Linked DNA regions of Homo sapiens: region 2 is linked to region 1. Evidence: promoter capture Hi-C in 16 types of primary human blood cells and fetal thymus (Javierre and others, 2016). All regions are on one chromosome and are shown on one strand. Each heading gives the region's core, a stretch centred on a gene start or on the middle of the fragment in contact. The rest is flanking DNA. Distances are from core to core; before and after follow the strand shown. Region 1 holds the start of ACTR3 (actin related protein 3). Region 2 holds the start of PRPF40A (pre-mRNA processing factor 40A).

Region 1 (6,371 bases), core at 241-2,740:
TTGTCTGTTTTCCGCTAATCTGTAAACTCTACAAGAGCACTTAACTATTTTGCATCCCACCGAATATTCGGAGTCAGCACAGACCCCGTCATAATAGAGTAGGTAAGCAATGCTTACCTGTCAAATGAATGAATGAAACACCCGATTCATCCCCCAAGCCAGCTTAATACATTAGATGATCTTATGGACTGAATAAGACATCCCTCCTTTTAAAGAATATTTTTGTTTTAGCTTCACATCAGCAAACCCCGAACGGTTCATCCTAAGATAAGCCTGGTAGAGAGGAAAGATACTAACCTTCTAGGGTCCTAAAGTGGAACTAGGAACTTATTAGATATGCACATTCTCAGGCATTATTTCCGATAGCCCAGTCAGAGAATTCTGGGGGTATGGCCCAGCAATCTGTTTTAACAAACCTTTCAGGTAATTCTGATACACACTAAAGTTTGAAAGGTTTCTTTAAGGCTTTCCAGTTTTCTTTTCTTTTTTGGAGGGATGGGGGGGGGTCTCCCCATGTTGCCCAGGCTGGTCTCGAACTCCTAGCCTCAAGCTATCCTATCCTCCCACCTCGGCCTTCCAAAGCATTGAAATTACAGGCATGACCCACTGCGGCTCGCCTCCGTTTCTAACTTAAAAAAATTTTCTTTGGAGGGGAGCCTTAATCCTTTCTATTATCCTGCTAGTAGAATCTTACTACTCCTGAGGGTAATCTTTGTCATAATCCAAAAGCCTTGAATAAAGGCCTATTTGTATAGTTATGCAGAATATATTCCTGGGAGGTTTGCCTTCCTAGGAGCACAGGTCGGCCCTGGGAGGTGGGGGTTGGGGGGCAGGGCTGCATTCTAAAGTCCTGTAACAACGCACAAGTACAACTGAATAGAACTCGGAACAAAGGCATCAGGGCCACGGTGCAAGTCTTTGTTCATCCGTTCCCCGACTGCTCACCCTGTCTGATACCGCTCTTTTCCACCCAGAAAAGCAGCCACTCAAGTTTTAAGAATGGATGTATGCCGCGGACGTTTTCGATTAGGCCGTTTTCTCTCAGGCACTGGAGGATATTCGTGGCTGCAGGAGGCGCTTCCACCCTTTCCTCAACCTAGCAAAGAAGTAACTGAAACTAACCCAAGGGTTACAACCGAAAAGCCCCTTCCAGCTTCAGAAGCAGAACTGGAAGCTCGGATAGACTTCTCCGCCTCTACACTCCTGGAAAACCCGCAGTGGATTTCACCAACTTCAGGATCGGAGCCCAGGCAGGCGAACGTACCTTATTGCGCATGCTCGCTAGCCCCTCCCGCTCGGAGCGGAAGGGGGAGCGCTGGGGGCCTGGGCCTGGCCTGGCCGGGGCGTCGGCACCGGCGGCCATCTTGGCTTCCCGGGGAAAGGCGGCGTGAGGGGAAGAAGTTGTAGGGTGGGGGCAGGAGTGAGGAGGAGGGAAGAGAGAGGGGGAGGAGGCCGCGGCGGGGCAGGGCGGGGACTGCCTGCCTGCCTGGGTTGCGGAAGTGATAGCCGCCGACCGAGCCTGCTGCTTTCTTGCTACTGCTTCGGCTTCCCGGCTACCCCCCGGACGGTGAAGGCGGCCCAGCTGTGGATGGTCAGATAGCCCTTGTCTCCCGCCGCCAATCTCTGGCCCCTAGCAGCACGGAGCAGACGGCGGCAGCAGCAGCAGCAGGCGAGGAGGAAGATGGCGGGACGGCTGCCGGCCTGTGTGGTGGACTGTGGCACGGGGTAAGGGGGCTTACGGGCGGGGGTGGGGAAACTGAGGCGGAGGAAGGAAGATGGCGGGGGAGGGAGGAGGCCGGGAAATGAATGGTGCGGCGAGGTGCCGCCGCCGGCTGTCAGTCCTAGACCCGCCGGCCAGCGAGGGGTGGGGCCCGCAGCCAGGGCCTCGCGGGTCCCCTCGTTTCTCCCTCCTGGGACTGGGGCGGGGGCGCGGGCCCGAGATTCAACCCCCAACCCTCCCAGCGGCTTTCTCCGCGCGACCCCTCCCGGCCCTTCCCCCACTACGGTGGGCAGCGCCGCCCAAAGGGCGCTGGGGACGGTCGTCTTGGGGGTGGTCCCCGGGCCCGACCCATCCGGCTTTCCTTTCCCTCCGCGCCCGTTTTTGCCAGTCGGTTTGGGGACCCAGGGGCCGAGCTCGGGGACTGGCCTGGCAGGGGAGCTAGAAAAGAGAAGCGCTCCTGGTAGGTTTGACAAGATCGCTGTGACAACATTCTGCCCAGGGTGTGGGTGGGGAAAGGGAAGAATCGGACTCTGAAAATGGGAACCTACAGTGGGGCTTTCATTTGACCACCCACCTTCTCCTTTCGACTCCTGGTCATTTCCATCTCCCTCTGCGTTTTAACCGGTGAACCAAGTCACATTTTAATTCGAGGGAGAAAGATGTCATGTGTTACTTCTGTAGCCTCAAAAAAGTCCCCCAGTGAGCAAGCGCGCTGCAACTTCCTTAGTTTTGTCAAAGCCGCTTCCTGCTTTCAGTCTTTTATACCCTTATAAGGTAGTTTTTAGTTTCCAACCTGAGCACATCTTACTAGAACTTTTAAGCAGGTTTTAAAGAGACTGAATTACCGGTGCTTGGTGTCCATTTATATGACTTAAAAAAATGTACTTATGTTTCATGGAGTGGGGGAAAGGAAGCACCCTGGAAAATAAACTAATTTAAGTTGTATTCGTTCATTCTGTGATGGTATCTTGAAGGAAGCAGGAAGGTATAGAGGTATATAGGAGGGTGTTTAAGTTGCAAATAGTTACTCGTAGATATGTAGGGTAGTTTGCGAAAATGTAGAGTGGCTTTAAAGTGTGGTCGTTCATTTTGTATTAATAGACGTTTTAGAGAGTTGTACCACACTCATAACTGCATAGAGAATAGACTACCCTTATTTTTATGTAGAATCACTGCTTCAGGATGACATATAGGAAAGTGGTTTTTTTTTCTGTGCTGATGACATCTCTCCAATTCCCAGAACACTCCCAGTTTTTTTTTTTTGAGGGGGAAGTCAGTAAGAGGTGGACTGTCAGGCTTTTTTTTTTATTATTAATTATAATTATTGATTTCATTATTGTTACTTAAAAGATTGTGTGTCCTTCACTCTTTATGTGAAATTTCTTTAATCTTCATTCTCATAACTAGCTAGTGTGGCAGTTTCTAAAATCCCAGTTAGGTAGAGAGAAACCACCAACTTCTTAATATTCTCCTAGGAAAACACTAGCCTTGGAACTTCTATGTATTTTTTTGATGAACACTTTATTTAAAAGTTTTTCCTTAATTCAGTCTCATTTCTCTGAACCAATAATTTTTTTTATTTCTCCCTTCTTAGTCTAATTGGTGAGTATTTTTATGTCTAGGTTCAGTTTTAAAATTAGATTTGGCCTGAGTCAGTAGGATAGGACTTTTCAAATGTGTTTTGTTAAAGTGACGAATATTGCTACATAATTAATGCTTTAGAAATTACTGCGTTTTCAAAAAAATAGTGTAAATAATTGTGGCCCTGAGAAATAATATGGTAACATCTCAAGTAGTATGTTACTTTTCTAATCTCCATTTTCCCCCTTTTGAAATAGTTTCGAATTAGTATACAAGATGTTTCATTGAGATAAACTGTCCTTAAGTGACCTCCTTTCCTAAAGGGCAACCTTGAATTTAAAACATGCTGAATGACCAGTAGGATCGGGAAGAGGGGTTCAATTTAACCTAGGCTATTTCTGTTTTAAAATTACGATTATCACAATAGTGTATTTTTAAGTTATTACATTGGTTTCTCCAATAAGGAGAGGTTATTAACTGCACATTGATGATTTGAATGGAACTGATTAGGAGTCCCCTTGCCACCTCACTCTCTTTTACCATTTGTCACAATCTGAAATTCCCCCTTTAGAGTTTCAGTTATTTTGGTTCTCAAAAGCCTTTTTGGTCTTACAAGTTTCCAGTGGTGCCTCCTGGGAAGTTACACCTTCAGCTTTATTTGCACATGGAGGATAAGTCCTTGAGGTTGAGGACCCTGAGATAAACATCTCTAAGTATGGCCTTAACAGGGAGCTTTTACATTTCAAAATTCTGTGGTCCCCGAATGCAAATTGTGCACCTGTAATTTGTCTAATTTTTTTTATGCTTTAGAGAATGCATTCAGCTCTGAGGTCTCTAAATTACAATTACTCACTTAGTTTAAGTAAAAAGTTATAACCTGAATCAGGTTGCTCATTTCATTCATTATATAAATTAGGGGAAAGGTGGCTGAAAAAAAGTGGCCATCTGTAAAACTTGATCGTCTTAGATAGGAAAGCTGTTAAGAGTTAGGAAACTTGAAACTTAAGCCCAAAACTTTTAGGGATCGTCCAGCAAAACTCAACATATGAATCACCTAGATTCAGGTCATAAAAGAGAATACTTATTTTGAAAAGAATTTGAAAAGAAATGCTTCATTCACATTGATACCCTTATCTACACACTTTTTTGGTCTGTATTGGAAAGCATTGTAAAATACAGTTGGGGCACATAGATTCCCATTGGTGGCTTGAAAACTAAATAACAGAACTCAAACCTGCTATTAGTGGTGAGAAAAGCATTTTCTTTAAAAGGCATTCACAAACATTTTTTAAAAAAACATTGTAACACTTGTATGATCATCCTAAGGTTTTTTTTTTTCTGGGCGGTGGAAGGGATCGTTTTTTAAATGTGTTTTTTGCTTTTTGTTTTTTTGTTTGTTTGTTTGTTTGTTTTGAGATGGAGTCTTGCCCTGTCGCTGGGCTGGAGTGCAGTGGCACGATCTCGGCTCACTGCAACCTCCACCTCCCAGGTTCAAGCTATTCTCCTGCCTCAGCCTCCCGAGTAGCTGGGACTACAGGCACATGCCACCACACCCAGTTAATTTTTCTCTTTTTAGTAGAGATGGGGTTTCACCATGTTGACCAGGATGGTCTCCATCTCCTGACCTCGTGATCCACCCGCCTCAACCTCCCAAAGTGCTGGGATTACAGGTGTGAGCCACCGCGCCCAGCCTTAAAGGTTTTTTTTAAATGCATGTTTTTACTCAAGTTTCTCCATCATTCAAGCCAAATGAGGGCGCTCCTTATTAACTCCTTGTTATATCGTAGCTTGGTTACAGAGCTGCATTGTGAATTTCCTTTTCCCTTTTATGTCTTTTTTTTTCCCCTGGTAAATAAAATATTGGTAAATTAGTTCCACTGATTATGATAGCAGAGGTTAATATAGCCCTATGGTCAAAGTCTTGGATATATTCATATCTGGAGCAGATTAAGGAATTTTGCTAACTGACTTCAACTTCTTAGCAATCTTAAAATGTAAGCTTAAATATCTTGTAGGTGTCAGTGAAAGAGGAGTATGTTCATCTTGTGGCCACAATTCAGCAATTAGTGCAGATAAGAATGATCTTGTTTGAAGAGCAGTGGGGAAAAGCTGGGTAAATGAAGGAAGGTATATGTGGGAAGTTCATGTTTCTTCCATGAATTCTGTGCGTATTGTTTAATAATAATGCTGTTTCTTTTTTTTTTTTTGAGATGGAGTTTTGCTCTCATCGCCCAGGCTGGAGTGCAGTGGCATGATCTTGGCTCACTGCAACCTCCTTCTGCCTCCTGGGTTCAGGTGATTTTCTGCCTCAGCCTCCCAAGTAGCTGGGATTATAGGCGCCCACTACCACGCCCAGCTAAATTTTGTATTTTTAGTAGAGACAGAGTTTCACCATGTTGGCCAGGCTGTTGTTGAACTCCTGACCTCAGGTGATCCACCCACCTCATCCTCCCAGAGTGCTGGGATTACAGACATGAGCCACTGCACCGGCTTAATAATGCTATTTCTTTAGCCATCTCCAAAGGCAGAAATATTCACAATAGCTTCTTAACCAAAAAGCACTCATTGAAATTCTTATTCCTTGATGAGTCATGCTTTGCATGCTGTTTGAAGTAAGTACAACAGACATGCTCCTAGTGAGAAGTCAGACTCTTACTTAGACTTAGCGAAAGACTCTCCCTCCTTTCCTGCCTGCCAATTTTGTGTTGAAATATTGACTTTGGATTGCAAATACTATATTGCGGTGAACGAACTTTCAGGCTTATTGTAAAACACAGTTCAGAATTTTAGGCACAGAACGGAAAGGTCCTGTGGAGGACCTGCTGGCCATGCTTTCTGTGACAGCTATTTTTTAACCTAATTTTATAAGTGAAAAAACAGAATGAGAGAATTTAAATTACCTTTTTGATGCCGTCTACCTGGCAGGTGGTTCGATCTGCTATTTGGACCTGAGTTCTGTATTTAAGTCCTGTGTTCTTTCTGTTAACACTCCGGGGACTCCTGACTGCCTTTTCAGAACTTTATGTGTTGCTTCATTGTTGTTAGTAAAGTTAACTGTATTTCTGTTTAA
Region 2 (6,512 bases), core at 3,392-5,891, about 39 Mb after region 1:
TGAGCACCCATGATGTGCCAAGAACTGTGCTCAGCACCTATAGGCTTCTTAAAAAGTACAGAACATAGCCCCTGCCCTCTAAGAGCTTACAATCTATTACTTGTTGGAAAATTAAAGCAAATTAAGAAACCATAAAACAAGTCAATAACTAGGTGCCAAAATAAGTGAAACGGTAAGAGTTATGGGTAGATTACAAATATTTTCTTTAATAATCTGAAGGGGAGGTATATGTTGGCAAAAGTCATTTTTGAGAAACTTTTGGAGAAGGCAGGACTTGAAATAGTACAACATAGGTAAGCAAAGCAAACTTCATGGTGATACTGAGCTGGGGGCAGGAGGGTAAGAAGAACAGCCTAAGTTTGAAGTTGTGAACTAATATAATCACTCAAGACACCGTGAAAAGACCAGCCTAAGTTCAAATTAGGGAGTGTAAAGACATGCAGCCTTGAATCCTGCTTTGACATGTACTATGGGGAGGTTCTTTAAAGTTAAGCTGTGGAATTTAGATACTATGTTATAGGCACTGAAAGTACTGGAGATTCTTGGGCAAGGAGATAACACATTGAAATCTAAAATTTGTGGGGGCAGGGGGGCATCCTTGAAGCAAGAAAACCAACTCAACTCAAAAACTGTTGAATAACCTAGGCATGGGAGAGTGACGACTTGGGCTCATGTGGTAGCAGGAACTGAAATAAAATAAGATCTATTAGAGCCAGCCTTACTCAATATAGGAGCAAGAAAATCAAACTCATTTGTAAAAAGCAATTATTCATTTATCAGTTTACTGACCAAAGACCAAAAAAAAAAAGCACTGAATAAATAGAATTAGGGAGGCATTACTAAAGGAATTTTCTGTTCTTTCCATATCATCCCATAAAATCTGATATCTACTCTTATCAAATGATCTGAACTGAATCATAGGATGTTAGAGCTGAAAGGGACCTTAACTCAATTACTCTACTCTTCTCACTGATAGAGGAAAATAAAGACTCAAATAGGGAGGAAAAAAAAAGAGCCAGCTAGCATGACTCTGGGGCAAAGGCATAATCATCTGTGATAAAGATGGCAGGACCTGCATGTCCTTTGTGTAGAAAACACAAAAGACATGAAAACAGTATTTACTATGGACACTGAGGAAGAAGACAGCCTCACACATAATTTTATTGATAGAAATCTCTACAGAAAATCTTTATTTTTTTGAGATAGGGTCTCACTTTGTCACCCAGGATGGAGTGCAAGGCGTGATCTTGACTCACTGCAGCCTCGACCTCCCAGGTTCAAGCAATCCTTCTGCCTCAGCCCCCTAAGTAGCTGGGACGACAGACGCACACCACCACACCCAGCTTATTTTTAAATAGTTTTTGTAGAGATGGGGTTTCACCATGTTGCCCAGGCTGGTCTCCAACTCCTGAGCTCAAGCGATGCACCCGCCTCAGCCTCCCAATGGGAAATTTTTGAGTACTGCCATCCAGCAGGGAAAATTCTTTATCTTTCTTTACTAACATTTAACCAGTGATCCTCAAAGCATCTTAAATCACATATTATTTAAAGCTTAAACAACCTGTAAGGTCCCTTTCAGCTATAAGATCCTATAACTCTAAAAGTATGACTTTCCTATAAAGTTATATAGAATAAGAGGCAAATTTAATCTACAAGATAGAAAACTGAAATAAACCTGAAAGAATATTAAGCTCAATTTGATAATCATCAAATATTTATTACTACTAAGAGTCAGCCTAAATGCATGAGATGGCACTCTAGGTCATCTCATGAATTAAGAAAAAAAAAATTTGAACACACCACTTCTTTAAGCTAAATAGCTTGATGCATTTGAGAAATTATGAACCCTGGCTTCCGTACATCATTATGCTACCCAGTCTGCATATTATTTTACAAACAAGTTTTACAGTTTCATGTCATATTGGTAACATTCCAAAGACCACAATTATTTGGCAAGTAAGACTGCCACCAATTTTAGTCTTTAGCTAGTCCCAGCATGAGATGTTCATGCAAACCAGTCAACACATGAAGGTTTTTATAACCTTCAGTCCCAAAGTCTAAAGAATTTGTGAACTGACTTTTTTAAATTGCATGGCAGAACCCTCCCAACTGTCACTACTGTGAATGATACAGACAGACATCCTGCTTCTTCTCAATTATCTTCTGACCACTTATTCCTCCTGAGTACTTCCAAGAGTGGCAGAAGAAATAATGCAGGAAAAAGGATCAATTGTCCTATTTATTATCACCTTTAATTTTTAAAGCAATGTTTACAGAGTTTCAAATATGATTTCTGATTTGAGAATTCAAATTATCCATGCTCTCCCAGTCTGTTATAAAGCTAAAACAAGAATTTGTTTTACCAAGATTTGGGACCCATATTTGTTAGTGAAATATTAAGGGGATAAAAGGGAATTATATAATTCTGACAAAAACAGCGGAGATTCTTTTGGGACTTTCAGGGCATAACTCCTACTAAAACATTTATTTATTATACTAACAGGAGCCTTCAGAGGGAGAAGAATTCTAAACATCTAAATAATTAGGTCTACTTAAAGGCACGTGGCATATATTAGCCTAGGAAAAAGTAGAAGAAAACCACACCAAAAAAATCAGTTATTTGAATGGATGTGTACCGAGTAGCAAGTAAACTTACTAGAAAGATGGTCACTGATACAGCTAAAGAGAAAGGGCCATAAAGCAAACTGTGACCAGCTTATGTCAATGAGATACATGAAAGTACTTTTAAAAAATAAAATCTGCATTTTTTTTTTTAACTAGAACTATGACTAGCTGGTATCTTGGTTTTGGTAGTGCAATAGCACCATTACAGCAAGGGTAAGCAGGTCAATCCCTTGCAAAACTTACCTTGATTGGCCCAATGGAAACAGAAGGCCCCAGAAAAGAGAGAAGCATCTGGCAGTAGCAAATTGTTTTATTTTATCTTTCTGTGGAAAGAAACTAATTTTAAATAAGAACCAGAGCATTTAAAGAATAAATATTTTTAAAGCTCATTATCTAGTTAGAGCAGCTCTACCAAGAAAACAAGAAGAGCTCCTTGCTCCTTAGAGATGGAAAGAAACAGAAGAGGAATCAAAGTTGTTTCTCCATCACCTAGAGAGTTTTAAAATTTGTGTTATTCTAGAGTAACAGAATAAAAGGCTCTTTTATTTAAAGAACTCCTGCAAGCAGAATCTTTTGGGGCTGGTGCCTTTGAATAAAGGTTTTGTTTTGTTTTTTAACAAAATTAAGGGCAATATTCCAAATTAAAAAAAAAAAGAGGAAAATCACTGGACATTAAGCCCTTCTACTCTTAAGGTTAAGTAAAAAGAGACAGACACATAGCAAGCTCCTTTTCCCACTGCAATTTCACCAATAACTTTAACCATGAAAGCTTAAACAATTATCAAACAGTACTAATTAGCAAAAGATCACATGAAATTGGCTTCCAAAATATTTTGTTAGCCTAAATTTTTGATGATTTATGGAAATACTCAAATGGAAATAACCCAGCCACCTAAAGATCTATTATAGAACTTAACATGAAGCACAAAATTACTCATGGTAACTGAACCTGTTACCTTTCTTGGATGCTTCTCTAGAAACTCAGTTCTACCGAAATCACTGAATCAGCATTAAAACCTTTTGATCCAAATCACTCCTACAAAATGTCCATTTACAATTTATGCTAGAGATGGAAGGGACAGCTCATAAGCAGGAGTGTAGAAGCAACAAGCATTAAAAAAAAATAGTATAAGTGGAAAATGAACTACCTATTGGCACTGTCCTATGAAGAATCAGAATTATAGAGCACAAACTCCCCACCCTCCCTCACCCTCCTCCAACACACAAAGAGGAAGATATTTCAGGAATAAAATTCGCTCTAAACCAAAACAATAGCTATTTTCAGATTCTATTTATTTACATGGTCTACCAAAATCAGTTATGTTGCTGTATCAGATAATATTTACTTAGACCATCAACTTCAATTGGCATTCTTGAAAAAATAATCATTAAAAATAAAAGCCTGGATCCACACTTTACTTTTAAATAATAAAGAAAAAAATTCTTAGTTTTGAGGTCATCAGTAAATTTCTCAGAAGACTTTTTCATTATTTAAATTTCTCAGAAGACTTTTCCATTATTCAAATTTCCGTTACAGTCATGATTTAACATTTGGCTTATTTGAAATTATTCGGGCATAAACTAATCATTAAACAGCTATAACTACTGACCTAGATTCTGAAATCTTGATAGAATACCTGAGGCAAAAACAAATAAATAAATGCAAAATAAAACAAAAACAGTCTTACTTGTCCCATTGGTGGCCCTCCCATAGGGGGCATCATCTGCGGCATCATTCCATGAGGTACAGGAGGCATATTCGCTCTCTGACCCATAGGGTGCATTCCCATTGGGGCATAATGCATGCCAGGGTGCCCCATCTGAAAAACAGTGAACATTTTTAAATGAGCAAATAATACTAAATGCTTCTCAAAAATCTCATTTCAACAGATCAGTTATCTGAAGCGACATAATATTAAGCTTATGTGTAATAACATCATTGGATTAGTCTATACCTTGTTTCAAACAAAACGCATTCTGCTAGTATTTAAAACGAGCTTGCAAATTCCGTAAAAAAATGGGAAAAGTTAAGATGAATCCTGGACCGCTGGATCATAGGTTTTCTCTCTCTTTTTTTTAAGCACTGACTTAACCAGCTACTAATTGGCTTGCTAAGCTTGGAGGATACACATTGAATACTAATTTTAAAACTGTTATGGTGAAAACAACAACTCTCCTATTTCATGCAGATATAAAAGATAGCCAGCTATTGTTATTTTATAACACTACTGATTTTAAACTTTAAAATGCTCTATCCAATTAACTCAGGTGAGAGTCGGTCTTACAAAACACAAACAGTATGGCTACCCAGGCACAATTCACTCCTAACAAACTTATTTCCTAACATAACCTTTAAGACAGGTAAAATTCCTTCTGCCAAAAATACATTTTCAAAGACTGAGGTTCTGTCACTCACGGACACTAAATGCAAACAACTAATTCATCCTTTTTAACGCAGTTTAAAAAGACAACTACTTTCTTTACCGATGAGTCCATTGTTCTATGTTTTAAATTAAAACCACCTAATTATCTCCTGCCAATTGTCCCAACAGTTCCCCCTGCAGACCACCCCGACGACTAATGAAAACAAATTTTGGCAGCCGCTGTTAAAGTCTTACAGTATCAAGCCCCTGCCTCCCCCTCCCAGCTAAAATCGGGCCTAAAGCTCCAAGACGCTCACCCCGCCCAAGAGCCAGCACCTTCACCACGCATCTGTCTAGGCCAAGCCCACGGGGAACTTCCAGGGTCTCACATCCTTCTCTTTGTGCATTTCCACCCTCCACTTCTCTCCCTCAGAACATATCCCACCATCTCGAGTTCTTCCTTCGTCCACTCTTATCTTCTTCTCCTTTCGGAGAAAGCTTCCTGTTTCTCACTCCGTTTTTCATTGTGCCGCCTTCCCCCTGCCCCACTGATCCCTTACCGAGGGCCGTCTCCTCAGGAAGCCGTCAGCAGAGACCCAAGAGCCGGAGCAGAGGCTTGAGCCGGACAATCTCCGCTCCCCGTCCCCAGGACCCTGCGAGGGAGGATGGCTCTCCATTTCACTCACCATGAGGCCTCCACGCTCAGCTCCCGTCCCCGGCCTCATCGTCGGGCTCAGACTGCTCCGCCGGCGGCCACTGCCGCTACACATACCAACAAGAAGCGATCTGAGTGGCTGGCGCCCACTGGGGCTAAAGGTTAAAGGCTGCCCTGCGCTACGGGGCGGGATCAGCGGGGCCAACAGGCTGACGGGCTTCCCCGCTGTCCAATCAGAATGCGCCGCCGACACGCAGCTCTGCGGCGATTCGCCCCCAGCCTCAGCCTCACTCGGCGTCGCCTGCATGGGGGGGGGGGAGGAGGAGGACGGAGGAAGTTTCTGCGCCGAGTCCTCCGTCGGGAAAACTCTACCAACTTCCCCAGGGGAAGGGAAGACAACAGTGTCCCAGCTTCCCGAGCTTAGACCGCCTCACCCCGTAGGGGGTGGGGCAGTGGGGGTCTGCCACCTTCACCCTCCCCGCCCGAGTTACGTACGCCCCACAAACCTGAGGCCGCCAGGGGTAGGGTGGAGGGGGCGGGGGTAAGCAGCCTGTAGTGTTAGCGGTGGCTGGGACCGAATGCGCGCGCGCGGTGCTCGAGGCGGAGGGGAGGAGGCGGGGAAGGCGAAAGGAGGGGTTCGGAGGAGAGGGTTCGATCTCCGTACGCACCAGGTGGAGAGCGCGCGCCTGGGGAAGGAGGCGTGTCGAGTAGCGGGAGGGAAGTTGTAGTACGGGTGGGGAGAACCACACTAAAGGGAGATGGGGGTGAGCAGTTAAGGAACCGCGAGAGCGCCAGGTAGAGAGGTGCCCTTAATGGGGGAACCTGGAGAAGAGTGTGAGCGTAGTGGGGAAGAAGGGAGAAGACAAATA

What was found. Contacts are between HindIII fragments. The CHiCAGO score rates a contact against its expected background, and 5 or more counts as called.
Region 2: a fragment that was not itself captured here is called in contact with the fragment with the promoter of ACTR3 in region 1 in 2 of 17 cell types (fetal thymus and total CD4 T cells); the score reaches 10.8 in fetal thymus.

What each region holds. Positions count from the first base shown.
Region 1 is chr2:113,888,599-113,894,969 of GRCh38, forward strand. It overlaps ACTR3 (actin related protein 3), which reads left to right and starts at 1,491. Exons shown (of 12, transcript NM_005721.5): 1 at 1,491-1,725. The coding sequence starts at 1,682. ACTR3-AS1 (ACTR3 antisense RNA 1) reads right to left here and starts at 2,394. Exons shown (of 5, transcript NR_110174.1): 1 at 2,295-2,394. It overlaps LOC124906071 (a long non-coding RNA gene), which reads right to left and starts at 1,169. Exons shown (of 3, transcript XR_007087205.1): 1 at 1-1,169. RefSeq lists enhancers at 862-1,171, 1,292-1,381, 1,414-2,069, 2,152-2,201, 2,252-2,431 and silencers at 1,462-1,521, 1,762-2,021. The HindIII fragment of the contact is 5,488 bases long and covers 1-5,298 here.
Region 2 is chr2:152,711,682-152,718,193 of GRCh38, forward strand. PRPF40A (pre-mRNA processing factor 40A) reads right to left here and starts at 5,780. Exons shown (of 26, transcript NM_001365597.4): 1 at 5,549-5,780; 2 at 4,314-4,445. The coding sequence starts at 5,758. It also overlaps a transcript of ARL6IP6 not described here. RefSeq lists enhancers at 5,480-5,779, 6,328-6,512, 6,500-6,512 and a silencer at 6,180-6,279. The HindIII fragment of the contact is 196 bases long and covers 4,544-4,739 here.